Regions from separate parts of the Homo sapiens genome. Here all the other regions are linked to region 1. The links are contacts of gene promoters, found by promoter capture Hi-C in human tissues and cell types (Jung and others, 2019). All regions are on one chromosome and are shown on one strand. The core of a region is centred on a gene start or on the middle of the fragment in contact, and the rest is flanking DNA. Distances in the headings are between cores, read along the strand shown.

Region 1 (3,374 bases), core at 260-2,759:
ATACAATTTTTCTTTTCTTTTTCCTTCCTTCCTTCTTTTTTTCTTTCTTCTCTCTCTCTCTTTCTTTCTTTATGAGACAGAGTCTCACTCTGTCACTTGGAGTGCAGTGGCCCGATCTTGGCTCACTACATCCTCTGCCTCCCGGGCTCAAGCGATCCTCCCACCTCAGCGTCCCTAATAGCTGGGACCAAAGGCACACACCGCAAAGCCTGGCTAATTTTTGTATTTTTTGTAGAGACAAGGTGAGCAAATAAATTTCTGTTAAGCCACCCAGTCTCTGGTACTTTGTTATGGCAGCCCTAACAAACAAATACAGGAGCAGATTATGAGAATTTACTAAACCAAACCACAGAAATTAAATTTTATCCTTTCAGCTGCCAGAAGCCCACAGAGGTGTCTAAGCATCAACGTGACAAATAAGCAGCTTTGGTTCTGCAATATAACCTGGAAATAGTGAGGACACCGACGTGGAGAATAGAGATGGGAGTTGACAGGGATCAATTGTTCTAATGCGGAATAATGCAAGACATAAGATCAAGCCAGCAGGAGTGAGAAACAGAGATCATATCAGGGTGATATCTGTGGGGCAAAAGTAACAAGAAGATAAGGTGTAGGCGGTGGAGGGTAAACCGCGAGGCTTCCATGAAGAAGAGTGGCCTGGGAAGTGAGGAGGACAGCGAAGCCCCAAACCTCACCTTGGGATACGGGAAGTGAAGCAGGTTCCAGAGAAGGGGACAAGATAATGACTTAGGGTAGGATAAATTTCAGACAATTGCAGAGCATCACATTAGATGTGTTCAGAAGAGTGGAAATAAAGTTCTGTGCCTAGGCCCTCATGCAGGATTCTGTTGCTAGAAGTCAGTGCTGGCCGCAGGGAGACCGGAGATCACAGTGGAGGCACCAGCGATCCGAGAGTCCTATGACGAATCCCTGGGATCCCCACAATGTGTGGAGACAGAAGCCAACCAAAGAGCGAGAAAGCATCTCCAAACCAGCAGAATCAGGGGCAGGAGGCCCGCCAAATGCACAGCAAGTCAGCCTTGGTAGTTTGCAAATGGAAAGATTTCTTTGACCCGCTGGAGACTTCAGCTCAGGCTGGATGTCGCTAATTCACACCATCTCACCAAAAGGTTCTTTCCCTGCCCTTTGGTGAATCGAGGCAGAAGTGGCTGGTGGATAACTGGGACCCAAGAGTTATCTCAGCGTCGGGCAGGCATCGACAGCTCCAGGAGCCCTTTCCCTGCAGGCGGGCTGGCGGGTGAGCGATTCCCTCCCTTCCCAGGCCTTCCCGGGAATGGAACGTGGGCGCCCGCGCCCGGGCTCCGGTTCCACTTGGAACGCGGACTCGGGAGCCGCCGGGCGAGCGCGCAGACCGCGGGGGCGGCTCCCTCGCACCTCCCCGCTCAGCGCGCCGCGGCGGATGGGCGAGGCGGGGCGAGGCCAGAGGGAGGCGGGCCAAAGGGGCGGGCGAGAGGACGCGGGACCGCGGGGAGGTCGGGGGCGGGGAGCAGGCGGCGGCGGGCGCCGGGAAGAAAGGAACATGGCTCCTGAGGCGCACAGCGCCGAGCGCGGCGCCGCGCACCCGCGCGCCGGACGCCAGTGACCGCGATGGTGAACTCCAGTCGCGTGCAGCCTCAGCAGCCCGGGGACGCCAAGCGGCCGCCCGCGCCCCGCGCGCCGGACCCGGGCCGGCTGATGGCTGGCTGCGCGGCCGTGGGCGCCAGCCTCGCCGCCCCGGGCGGCCTCTGCGAGCAGCGGGGCCTGGAGATCGAGATGCAGCGCATCCGGCAGGCGGCCGCGCGGGACCCCCCGGCCGGAGCCGCGGCCTCCCCTTCTCCTCCGCTCTCGTCGTGCTCCCGGCAGGCGTGGAGCCGCGATAACCCCGGCTTCGAGGCCGAGGAGGAGGAGGAGGAGGTGGAAGGGGAAGAAGGCGGAATGGTGGTGGAGATGGACGTAGAGTGGCGCCCGGGCAGCCGGAGGTCGGCCGCCTCCTCGGCCGTGAGCTCCGTGGGCGCGCGGAGCCGGGGGCTTGGGGGCTACCACGGCGCGGGCCACCCGAGCGGGAGGCGGCGCCGGCGAGAGGACCAGGGCCCGCCGTGCCCCAGCCCAGTCGGCGGCGGGGACCCGCTGCATCGCCACCTCCCCCTGGAAGGGCAGCCGCCCCGAGTGGCCTGGGCGGAGAGGCTGGTTCGCGGGCTGCGAGGTAAGAGCGCGCGACCCGCAGCGGCAGATGCACGAACCAGAACGGCCGGCGCCGGCCGGGGCCATCGCCCGCTGCGGCAGCTCCCCGGGCTCCATCTCGCATCCCCTCTGCGTTCCGCCTCCCTTGGAAGCGCATTCCCCACCTCCGCTAGTGCTGCCCTATTTCCGGTACCCAGCGCGGAATTCCACTGCTCTTTTGTTGGTGCATATTTATTGGATACCTCCTTCTTCAGGATATGTCACCATAGTCTTTTTTACTGAAAATTAGTGAAAGCCTAATTAGAGTGAAAGAGTACATCTGGGTTTTGTTTTTTTTTTTCTTGTAGAGGAAAAAATGAACATTACTTGTGTAACTGATGGTAGTTGCAACTGCATATTTGCCAATGTCACAAAATCTAAAGGAAAATGTTATAGTCACCCGTGGTTTCCTTCTTGCCTGGACACTCCATTGTCCCGGGCTGAAAAGGGTAGCAGTACAGTGCATATAATGTCAAGTTGTGGGAGGAGTGTGGCAGATTGTCATTGGTGCATTTTTTTGGTGATGTGTGTGGTTGTTTTGAGGAGTGGGAGCTGTTAAGAACACCACAAATAGAATAAAATAATATCGTGAAGTTATTTGGCCGTTTCTAATTCTAGACATTTTTCTAAAAACAGTTGCAAAGGAAAGATTACATTGTTTTAAAAAAATTTGAAGTATGTTTTTAAATAACTAAATTAATGTTCTTTGAAATTCCACCAAAATGATGAAGTCACCAGATAGCAGCTGATAAATGTGTCTGAGCCCAGTGCGCCCAGCTCTACAAAAGGCAGAAGAGGAATTTTCAAATTTGCCAGTGCCCAGTAAGAGGACATGAATTTTCTAGTACCAGAGGAAATTCTCTTTTTACAAATTTTGTCAGAGGTATCCTTGGGAAAGTATTTCATTTGCTTTTACCCTCCAAATTATTTTAATCTATATTTTTAAGAGTTTCCATTCTCAGTTGAGTTTTTCTTGTTCTTCTCCTTCTGTCAGTTTTGAAAGTCTTGCACAAAAACAATCCAGGTGTTGTTACAGCAGTGTGATTAAAACCAGGTCAGGCCTACACTGAAATCCCAGTTCCACCACTCATTAGCTGTACGACCTTGAGCAAGTTACTTATCCTCTCTGATACCCAATTTTTGGATTTTTTTTT
Region 2 (3,374 bases), core at 639-3,138, 460 kb before region 1:
TTAAACCAGATTCCTGATGTTTTAGCCATCTAAATCCCCAAATTTTTGTTAGAATAAATTGTATTTGTTCATTTTTAATTTTATGGAAGTCTTAGGTTCTCTAAGTCCTGGAGCTTGAGGACCCAACTGGCAAGCATGAAGGGCTGGAAAATCCTATTGTTAACTGACAAAATATCTTTTCATAAGAGTTTATGCAAGCTAAAAGAATATATCTGAAGACAGGATTATGTGCTTTTCTACAAAGTTCTCTTACAGTTTTTAAGGGGATGTTAGTGATTAGGATACAGCACTGGTCTTTTTTTTGTTGTTGTTGTTTGTTGTTTTCTTTTGAGATAGTCTTGCTGTCGCCCAGGCTGGAGTGCAGTGGCACGATCTTGGCTCACTGCAATCTCTGCTTCCTGGGTTCAAGCGATTCTCTTCCCTCAGCCACCCAAGTAGCTGGGATTACAGGCACATGCCACCATGACTGGCTAATTTTGTATTCTTAGTAGAGATGGGGTTTTGGCATGTTGGCCAGGCTGGTCTTGAACTCCTGACCTCAGGTGATTTGCCCACATTGGCATCCCAAAGTGCTGGGATTACAGACGGGAGCCACTGCACCCGGCCACAGCACTGGGTTTAAAGGAGATCTTAGAGAAGAATTTGTTCCCCTTAGCAAGCTGGAAACACTTTAGATGCAGGAGATTAACTTGGTTAGGTCATGGTCCTTCCCATTGTGTTATTTCTTAGATTTTTATATGTTTTCTTAAAAGAGGAGAAATATTCTGTCTATATTAATTAAATTGGGAGAAAATGAAATTTACTTTCTATTTACACCCAGTTTCACTCAGAGTAACACCCCAAGTCCTCACATTGGTCTCCAAGTTCTTGAGGCTACGGTGCAGTAACTGTGCTGACCTCATCTCTTGCTATTGTCCCCCCACTCACTTACTCACTCTGCTGCAGAACGCTGGCCTCCCTGCAGCTCTTCACACCCCTCAGACACACTCTTGATGGGGAGCCTTTGTGTTTGCTCCTCCTGCTTGGAATGCTCTTCCCTAGTTTACCTACTTGGCTTACTCTCTCACCAACCTCCTCTTTATTCCAGTTTCTCCTCAATGAGACCTCTCCGCCCACATTATTTAATTCTGAAAACCATACTTTTTCCTTATTCCCTTAGGTCTTAATCCTTCTTCCCTGCCCAAATTTTTTCTCCTTTTTTAAAACATAGAATAATGATCTTTTAACAAACTATTTACTCATTTATAATGCATTGTGTTTATTTCCAACCTGCCCTTGCTAGAATGTAAATTTCTCAGGGGCAGAGATTTTTGTCTGTTTTATTCACTATTGTGTCTCAAGAGTCTAAAACAGTGCCTGGCTCTGTGTGAAGCCACACATCATTGTTGAATAAGCAAGTGGGTTGGTTAAGCATAAGCAGGGACAGAGAGGCTTTTATGAGGAATTTGTAGCTGTCAAAAGAATAGCTTGAAGGCCAGGTGTGGAGGCTCATGCCTGTAATCCCAGCACTTTGAGAGGCCGAGGCGGGTGGATCACCTGAGGTCAGGAGTTTGAGACCAGCCTGGCTAACATGGCAAAACTCCATCTCTACTAAAAATACAAAAAATTAGCTGGGCGTGGTGGCGGGCGCCTGTAATCCCAGCTACTTGGGAGGCTGAGGCAGGAGAATTGCATGAACCTGGGAGGTGGAGGTTGCAGTGAGCCAAGACTGTGCCATTGGACTCCAGCCTGGGGGACAGAGCAAGACTCTGTCTCAGAAAAAAAAAAAAAAAAAAAAGAATAGCTTGAAGACACCCACAAAAGTAGGACAGAAGGAAGGTAAAATGGAGATGGAGGAAACACATACAGATGATCCTTGACTACGATGGTTCAACTCACAATTTTTCAACTTTATGATAATGCAAAAGCTATATGCATTCAGCAGAAACCATGCTTTGAGTACACTTACTGTTCTTTTTTTGACTTTCAGTACAGAATTCAATAAATTACATGAGAAATTCAACACTTTATTACAAAATAAGCTTTGTGTTAGATGATTTCGCTCAACTGTGGGCTAACATAAGTGTTCTGTGTATGTTTAAGGTAGGTTCAGTTTTCTAAATGCATTTTTGATTTAGGATATTTTCAGCCTACAATGGGTTTATCAGGAAGTAACTCCATCATAAATCGAGGAACATTTATATTGCCCTTACAATTTTTTCTAGGGTTTACCTTGCTGACAGATATCTGAGGTATAGGGAAATGCCTGGATATAGGTGCTCAGGGGCGGCTGTTTCTAGTGAATTTTAGGGGAGTGTGTATGTGACAGAGACAAGAGGAAGAAGGGAAGGCATCGCAATGAATATAGCTAAGAAACATCCCATCACTCCCTTGATCTTTTATCCTTCCAACCTTCATGCACTCAACTTTTGTGCTTGTACCTGCAGCACACCATTGGTTTTATTTTTATAGTCAGACAAAGATGACAAACATAAGATATCTCTGGATAGAACTTTAAATACCTCTCAGGGCCATAATGAGACAAAACAACTTCATTTTTACCAAACACAAGACAAAGATGACTGGCTTACCAGACCAAACAATCTACCTGCTCACCTGTGTGGAACTGTTTTAACTCGATATTCCAGTGTGCTCCTGCTGAATTAGAAGAAAGAATGGAAAAGCTACTAGAAGATGAAAAAGTCATGTTAGTTTATGCTTTCCCCAACAAACAGCAGATGCTGCTAGTAAGCATCTTTTATGTGTGCAGCTCGGAGCCTGAGCTCTGTATTTGTTTGGGGGATAGGAATCAGACTGTCTGGGTTTAAATCTTGTTTCCACTACTCACTAGCTGTGTGACTTAAGGAAAGTTATCTGATCTTTTAAATCCCGTTTTACCATGTGTAAATAGCACCGTGAGATTATTGTGAGGATATACATGTGAAGTGTCTAGCACAGTGCCTTAATAAAGAGCATCTATTAGGCCTGCTCTATAATATAGGCAGTTAGGCTGCCTACTTTTTTTTTTTTTTTTTGAGGTGGAATCTCACTCCCATTGCTCAGGCTGGAGTGCAGTGGCATGAACTTGGCTCACTGCAACCTCTGCCTCCTGGGATCAAACGATTGTCCTGCCTCAGCCCCCTGAGTAACTGGGACTACATTTGTGCCACCACGCCAGGCTACTTTGTGTATTTTTTAGTAGAGACGGGGTTTCACCACATTGGCCAGGCTGGTCTCAAACTCCTGACCTCAAGTGATCTACCTGCCTCAGCCTCCTAAAGTGCTGGGATTACAGGCACGAGCCACCATGCCAGGCCAGGCTGCCTATCTTAAAATTCTGGTATTATTCTGTACTTGTTATGAAATTTAGGGCAAGATACTTCACCTCACTTTGC
Region 3 (3,374 bases), core at 265-2,764, 380 kb before region 1:
GATTCATAGAGATATTATGAAAAAGAAGATGAGATACGGAGCTAAGAAAAAAATAATGTAGGGCAATGCTCGTTGCTACATTTCAATGGGTTTTGGTTTTTTAAAAATTTAATTAAAAAAACCCAGCAATTTCAAATAGTTTGACCTAAAGTAATAATAAACATGGTCTTGGACAAACCTATTCATTCCTTTAAATTATTCAAGGAAGGAAATGTTATCTTTTTTCAAAATGCCTACAAGGATTCTGTCTGACCCTGATGATAATTAACAAGTACCTAGAGAAAGAAGAGACAAAGAGGTTAAGGAGTGGAAGAAGAAATTGCAAAATTTTAAAAAGTTAAAACAGATCGAGACCATCCTGGCCATCATGGTGAAACCCTGTTTCTACTAAAAATACAAAAATTAGCCAGTTGTGGTGGCATGTGCCTGTAGTCCCAGCTACCTGGGAGGCTTAGGCAGGAGAATCACTTGAATCTGGGAGGCGGAGGTTGCAGTGAGCCAAGATTGCGCCACTGCACTCCAGCCTGGCGACAGAGCGAGACTCCATCTCAAAAAACAAACAAACAAACAAACAAACAAACAACAAAAAAGTTAAAAGCATTAGCAGGCCAGGTGCAGTGGTTCATGCCTGTAATCCCAGCAGTTTGGGAGGCCGAGGCAGGCAGATCACTTAGTCCAGGAGTTCCAGACCAGCCTGGTCAACATGGTGAAACCTCCCCTCTACAAAAAAATACAAAAATTAGCCAGGCGTGGTGGCATGTACCTGTAGTCCCAGCTACTCAGGAGGCTGAGGTGGGAAGATTGCTTGAACCCAGGAGGTGAAGTTGCAGTGAGCTGAGATTGCGGCACTGCACTCCAGCCTGGGTGACAGAGTGAGACCCTGTCTCAAACAAACAAACAAAAAAAGCATTAGTGAAGAAATAGCAATATATTAGACTGTTGAAAATAAGATTAGAAAATATACTAAAATGAGCACATAGATTTCAGTTGATATTTATGTATGTAATTTTATGTACTCAGAAAAGTAACCTAGTAGATATGTAGATATTCTATTACTAAGAAAGGAGAAACTTTTTTTGGTCTTACAATTAATGGGAATGTAAGAATGCTTTGAGAAGGTTACCAGTTTTCATGCCTGTGTTTAAAGAGGACAACTCTAACTTGGTTCATGTGGATTCTTAAACATACCAATCAAACCAAGGACTGCAAACGTGATAATACAATATGAAGCTTAATGCATATCTAAGTGAAATGTTTACCTGTCTTCATAATAATTACTGTCGTTGGGCTGGGCATGGTGGCTCACGCCTGCAATTCCAGGACTTTGGGAGGCCGAGGCAAGTGGATCACCTGAGGTCAGGAGTTCAAGACCAGCCTGACCACTGTGATGAAACCCCCTCTCTACTAAAAATGCAATAATAATAATAATAGTAATAATTACCATTGTCAAAGGTATCAGTGATTATTATGCTTCTGCTCATCAAATTTGGTTAACCTAGAGTGGCAAAACACCATTGATGTAATTGACTACTGGAGAAGTCACAAATCTATTTCAGCTTCACCTTTCTTATTATCTTTTGACATGATGGTGCATTAGATGAATATTTTTATACATATATAAATTTATAGAAATGTATGTATAATCTGGTTTGCCAAAATTACATACTTTAACAGCAAAGTGAAAAATCCTAATTGGTTAAAAAAAAAAAAAAGGCCATGAATAAGGGCTAGGTGCAGTGACTCATGCCTGTAATTTCAGCACTTTGGGAGGCCAAACGGGGAGGAGTGCTTGAGGGCAGGAGTTCGAGACCAGCCTGGGCAACATGTTGAGTCCCCAGCTACTCAAAAGGCTGAGCTTGGAGGGTTGCTTGAGCCCAGGAGTTGGAGGCTGCAGTGAGCTATAATCATGCCACGGCATTCCAGCCTGGGTAACAGAGTGAGGCTGTCTCTTAAAAAAAAATGCCATGAGTAAAAGTAAGGAAGCATTTGGAAGAAAATATGCCCTACCAAGTTTGTCTGTATCCAGAACCAACAACTATTTGGCTGATATTTCATGTTGAGATGCTTTGATGGCATTGCTTTACTGTCTTATTAAATTATGTCAATGGAAGGTTTTCACACATCTTTGTCGAGGTTGGACTGGTTTGCCACCGACAGATGACTTATCTTCAGAGTAAGCTACTCTTTTCTAGACCAATCTTTTTCCTTTTGCTAATTAAGAATTGACTCCTCTGGAATCCTTTTATTGACCATGAAGGGTGGTAGGAAGGAAGTCTCAAGGAGAAAATGTTGGAGAACTGATGTGTAATCTATTCTAAGCATTATTTAAAGTTGGCAAAGAAAAATGTGGGACATAGTGTTCTCAGTGTTAGCCATTTTTATTCTACTAGCAATTTTCTCCAAAATCAGAACATCTTGAGGTCTCCAGATTGGAAAAGAATCAATTTTTGTGGCAGAGTGAAATCAACCTTTTTCAAATAACCAAGCTGTGGTGTTGTAAATTCAAAAATAGTCTCCAAATAGCTGCAACTTTCAACTGTTCTTACAAATAAAAACATTTTTAAAAAACCAGTTTTATCCACTTCCAAATCCTAAGACAAAGAATTAATTAAACTACCTTCATGGAAAAGAGACAAACATTTTTAAAAATCAAATGCATTCTGACATAAAAACATTACAAACACTTGCTTACTTAAGATTAGAAAAACCAACCAAAGTGATGCCCATAAAAATGGTGAAATTACATTATGAGCCTATGGAAGAGCTGATCTTAACTATCATATTCAGTATTAATTTTTTGAAAACAATATTTGTCTTAAAGACTTTTCACTATTAAATATAATCCAACCTTAACAAACATTTAAAACAAATGCTTGTGTAACCACCATGGACATTATGAAAAATAATACTGCTGCCTCTCCAAAGCAACTCCATAACCCTCCCCCAGAGACAACTTAGCCTGACTGTGGCAATCACTTCCTTGCATATCTTTTACTTAATATATAAATATGCACCTAAATATGTGTTCTGAAATACTATTGTGTGAGTTTTGCCAATGGCTACTGGCTACTACATTGAAACATGCAGATACAGAACACCTCGTCATCTCAGAAAGCTCTTCTGGACAAGCTGCTCTAGAATGACAACAACTTCAGAGCCTAGCCTATGACTCATTCTTCTTATATCTCCATGCCCTGACCCCCACCACAATGCCTAACACAGTATTCTTTTGACAATTGCCTGTTGGACTAGACTACCTCCAAGGAGGTTTAGAGTCCAGTGGTGAAAATAGAAAATAAGCAGAATGCTAAATGAGGTTCCAAAGGCTGAGAACATGACACAAGTGGCCAATATAATAGTTTCCCAATACCCTA
Region 4 (3,374 bases), core at 273-2,772, 270 kb after region 1:
CGCCTGTAATCCCAGCACTTTGGGAGGCCAAGGCGGACAGATCACCCAAGGTCGGGAGTTAGAGACCAGCCTGACCAACATGGCAAAACCCCGCCTCTACTAAAAATACAAAAATTAGGTAGGCATGGTGGCAGGCGCCTATAATCCCAGGTACTTGGGAGGCTGAGGCAGGGGAATCACTTGAACCTGGGAGGTGGAGGTTGCAGTGAGCTGAAATTGCACCATTGCACTCTAGCCTGGGAGACTAGAGCAAAACTGTCTCAAAAAAAAAAAAAAAGAAAAAGAAAAGGGCTACCTGGGGCCAAGCATGTTCAATATGTTCCATCTTCCCTTTTCTTTGTCACCATGTGTAAAGAAATGGGCAACATGGCGCTGGCCAGGTAGAGAACCCATCTGCATAATAAAAGATTAGGGTGGGGGTGGCCAGATTCTTGAATGCTCTGCAAATTGCACACCTAGGCCTAATCAGTTTTTCGTGTGCTATGCAAATGGCACATCTGGTCCAACCAATCTTTCATGCCCTATGTAAATCAGACACTGCCTCCTCAAGTTCATCCATAAAGCCTCCTGCACTTCACCATGGACTAGAAAGCTGTTTGGGACCCCTCTTTTTGCAGGAGAGAGCTTTTCTCTTTCTTTCACCTATTAAGTCTCCACTCCTAACCTCACTCCTTGTGTGTCCTCGTCCTTGATTTCCTTGGTATGAGACAATGAAACTCAAGTATTACGCCAGACGAGCAATGCTGCTTCAGTAGGACTGAGCGGCACGCCTCTCTTTTATACCTAAAATCTCACCATTAGTAATTCACTTCTATGGTTTAAGCCTTTTTCAGGTGTCTGCTAACTAAAATTCAAATCCACCCAGGAGTGACAGCTCATTAAAATGCAAACATTTTATAATAATTTGATTAAATCAGCTATATGATAATCAAAGAAAAAATTACAGTAACTTCAGTGAGAAAGAGTCAGCGTGGAGATCTCAGTTCAATCCAAATAATTATTGAGTACCTGCCAGGTTCTATGCAGGGTGCTGCACACTGGAGATTCAAAAATGAATAAGCCACAGTCCTTCACCTCACAGGAAGGGTTCAAGAAGAGGGGAAAGGGGTTAATACTAAAAGAGAAAAGATGAAAGAAACTGGAGAGGGTAAACTGCACTTACTACAAAATTTTGTTTCACTGGCACTGGTCCTATCTATATACATAGGCCGAAAAGAATATTATCCACTCTTATAATACTGATACTGCTTCAGTTCTTGCTAAAAACTAAAGTTTTAAACTTAAATAATAACTTTGAAATTTAAAATGACATTTTAAAAAATCCATAAACTGAACAGTTACACAACATATGGCATTCTATCTTTAGTGGCTTTAATGTATTTGATAAAATAGGCCCTAAATATCAAGACAATTTTTGCCATCTTTGAAGGCTCTGGCAACTTATCAAGAATAAAATTTTTAAATGTTCTCAAAACACTAATTTTTAAAAAACACAGACCGATAAGAATATATACAAAATAAGATTTTAATAACAAATAACAAATTTAATAACAAAATAAGATTTAATAACAATATTATAATAGACCTTTTCTTTTAGTACACACTAAGAGCATCATCTTGTCTTGCTCCATTATACTTTCAAACAAATTACCATTATATGAAAAATACATTTTAAAATATCTTAAGAATGTTCTGGGATCATTACTTCAAAGCATATGATAGAGGAATTAAATTAAATAATGCATTTTAATTTCTTTATTACAAATGAATTGATTTTAGTAAGAATAAAAAATATGGAACTCTTCATGCATTTGTGTGCCATCCTTGCACAAGGACCATGCTGATCTCTGTATCATTCCAATTTTAGTGTATGTGCTGCTGAAGTTAGCATATGAATTACATTTTTGTGATTAATTTCTTTATACAACTGTTTAATGTTTTTGTGACAAAGGTATCTTTAGAAAGTTTCTTTTAAGATAGGCAAGTTAATTAAATTCTTTAAGTTCAAAATTCTGTTGAGTTATACTTCATTCAATAATAAAAGGAGTCCTGTCATATTTTACATCAAGTCAATCACCGATTGGTTTAAGCATCTACATTGACTAGATACTTTTAAAAGAGGCTGATGGCATTGAGAAGGCCAATGTTTTTGGTTGGTGGTCACATGCCTGGGATAAATTTGGACATTCTCATCCAAAAACCTTGCCCAGTAAGCTGCAGCTATTTACAGAACAGCTGGGGCACACCACCGACACTACAGTCAACAAACATTGTGGTGTGAGACATAGCCAGATGCACAGCCAACTCAGTTACTATGAAATAAGAGCATACCAAAATTCAGGAAGTAATAAAAATAAAACCATAAGAAAATATTTCATTTCCTCTTTTCCTTCATGTGTTTTAACTATTTGGAACAAGAGCTAAGTCTTATGCATAAAGTTTACCTCTTTCAGCTTCTGTCTTCTTAAAGGTAAGGGTCCAGTTGAAAGGAAAAAGAAAAATTCCAAAGGAATGAAAGAAAAGAAAATGGGCCTAAATGATCTACAAACTGGAAAACATATCCCTGAAGAGAGTGGACTGTAATGCTTTCCTGAGGAGTGTGATAGTAAGGTTCTCAAAAAAAGCTCAGGAAAAAATCTCAAGATGGTAAATAGAGCCATCGCAGAGTTACCTTCTCCTCTCCTCATGAGAGAAGAGAGATAATGCTGGTGGTCAGGAAAATCCCAGCCCTAACTCTGAACTGACCTTTACCACTCTAATCTTCAGTTCCTTCGCTGTGAAATGCAAACAATCTCTATCCTTATGTATTCCAACTGAAGACTGTGCAAATGACATTTCTGTGGTGCACTTGGTTTCTTTCTTTTTTTTAAGAAAAGGATGAACCAAATACAGATCAAGATTATTGCATGATTCATTTTCAAATCATTTACAAGGTTACATGCACACATTCATTTGGCTGGTACAGAAATTTTCAGGGTTAACTTTAACAGCAAAAGATTTGGGACTAGCTAACTAGAAAACGTTTGCTGAATTTTCGTGAAATGGTTTTGATAAATTTAGTCAAAACCAGAAACATTTCACTTTCAAAATTTAAGGACATACAGTACACAAAATTTTAAATTCAGCTAGCATGACCTTATGCTGAAAATATCACTAGTTACCAGAGAAAAGCTGCAAGATTGAGCTTTTTAAGAAGTGACAGAAAAATATTTTCCTTCTAGTTATACAAATTAGTGCATATTAACCATTGTCTTTTTCTATTTAGGACCTATTTGCAATTTTTTTCTTGTTGGACAATGACTGTCCTCGCTAGATGTGATTACCCTGTAGTGTATTTCAGCACTTGGTCACCAGATCCATCTAAAAAAAAAACC

What was found. The method cuts DNA at HindIII sites, captures the fragments that hold promoters and counts their contacts. A contact is called where the count stands out against the background at its distance.
Region 2: a contact is called between a fragment that was not itself captured here and the fragment with the promoter of PKD2 in region 1, in 1 of the 25 tissues and cell types used here (hippocampus).
Region 3: a fragment that was not itself captured here is called in contact with the fragment with the promoter of PKD2 in region 1 in 2 of the 25 tissues and cell types used here (H1 embryonic stem cells and bladder).
Region 4: a contact is called between a fragment that was not itself captured here and the fragment with the promoter of PKD2 in region 1, in 1 of the 25 tissues and cell types used here (liver).

Annotation. Positions count from the first base shown.
Region 1 is chr4:88,006,126-88,009,499 of GRCh38, forward strand. It overlaps PKD2 (polycystin 2, transient receptor potential cation channel), which reads left to right and starts at 1,510. Exons shown (of 15, transcript NM_000297.4): 1 at 1,510-2,203. The coding sequence starts at 1,609. RefSeq lists silencers at 1,273-2,202, 2,253-2,392. The HindIII fragment of the contact is 15,667 bases long and covers 1-3,374 here.
Region 2 is chr4:87,550,594-87,553,967 of GRCh38, forward strand. No RefSeq gene overlaps it. Among named protein-coding and RNA genes, the nearest start is that of SPARCL1, 23 kb to the left of the region's middle. The HindIII fragment of the contact is 4,755 bases long and covers 1-3,374 here.
Region 3 is chr4:87,629,505-87,632,878 of GRCh38, forward strand. All of the region lies in intron 3 of DMP1-AS1 (DMP1 and DSPP antisense RNA 1), which reads right to left. Among named protein-coding and RNA genes, the nearest start is that of DMP1, 19 kb to the right of the region's middle. The HindIII fragment of the contact is 5,656 bases long and covers 1-3,374 here.
Region 4 is chr4:88,273,418-88,276,791 of GRCh38, forward strand. All of the region lies in intron 3 of PPM1K (protein phosphatase, Mg2+/Mn2+ dependent 1K), which reads right to left. It also overlaps the pseudogene RNU6-112P. Among named protein-coding and RNA genes, the nearest start is that of PPM1K, 9.5 kb to the right of the region's middle. The HindIII fragment of the contact is 6,866 bases long and covers 1-3,374 here.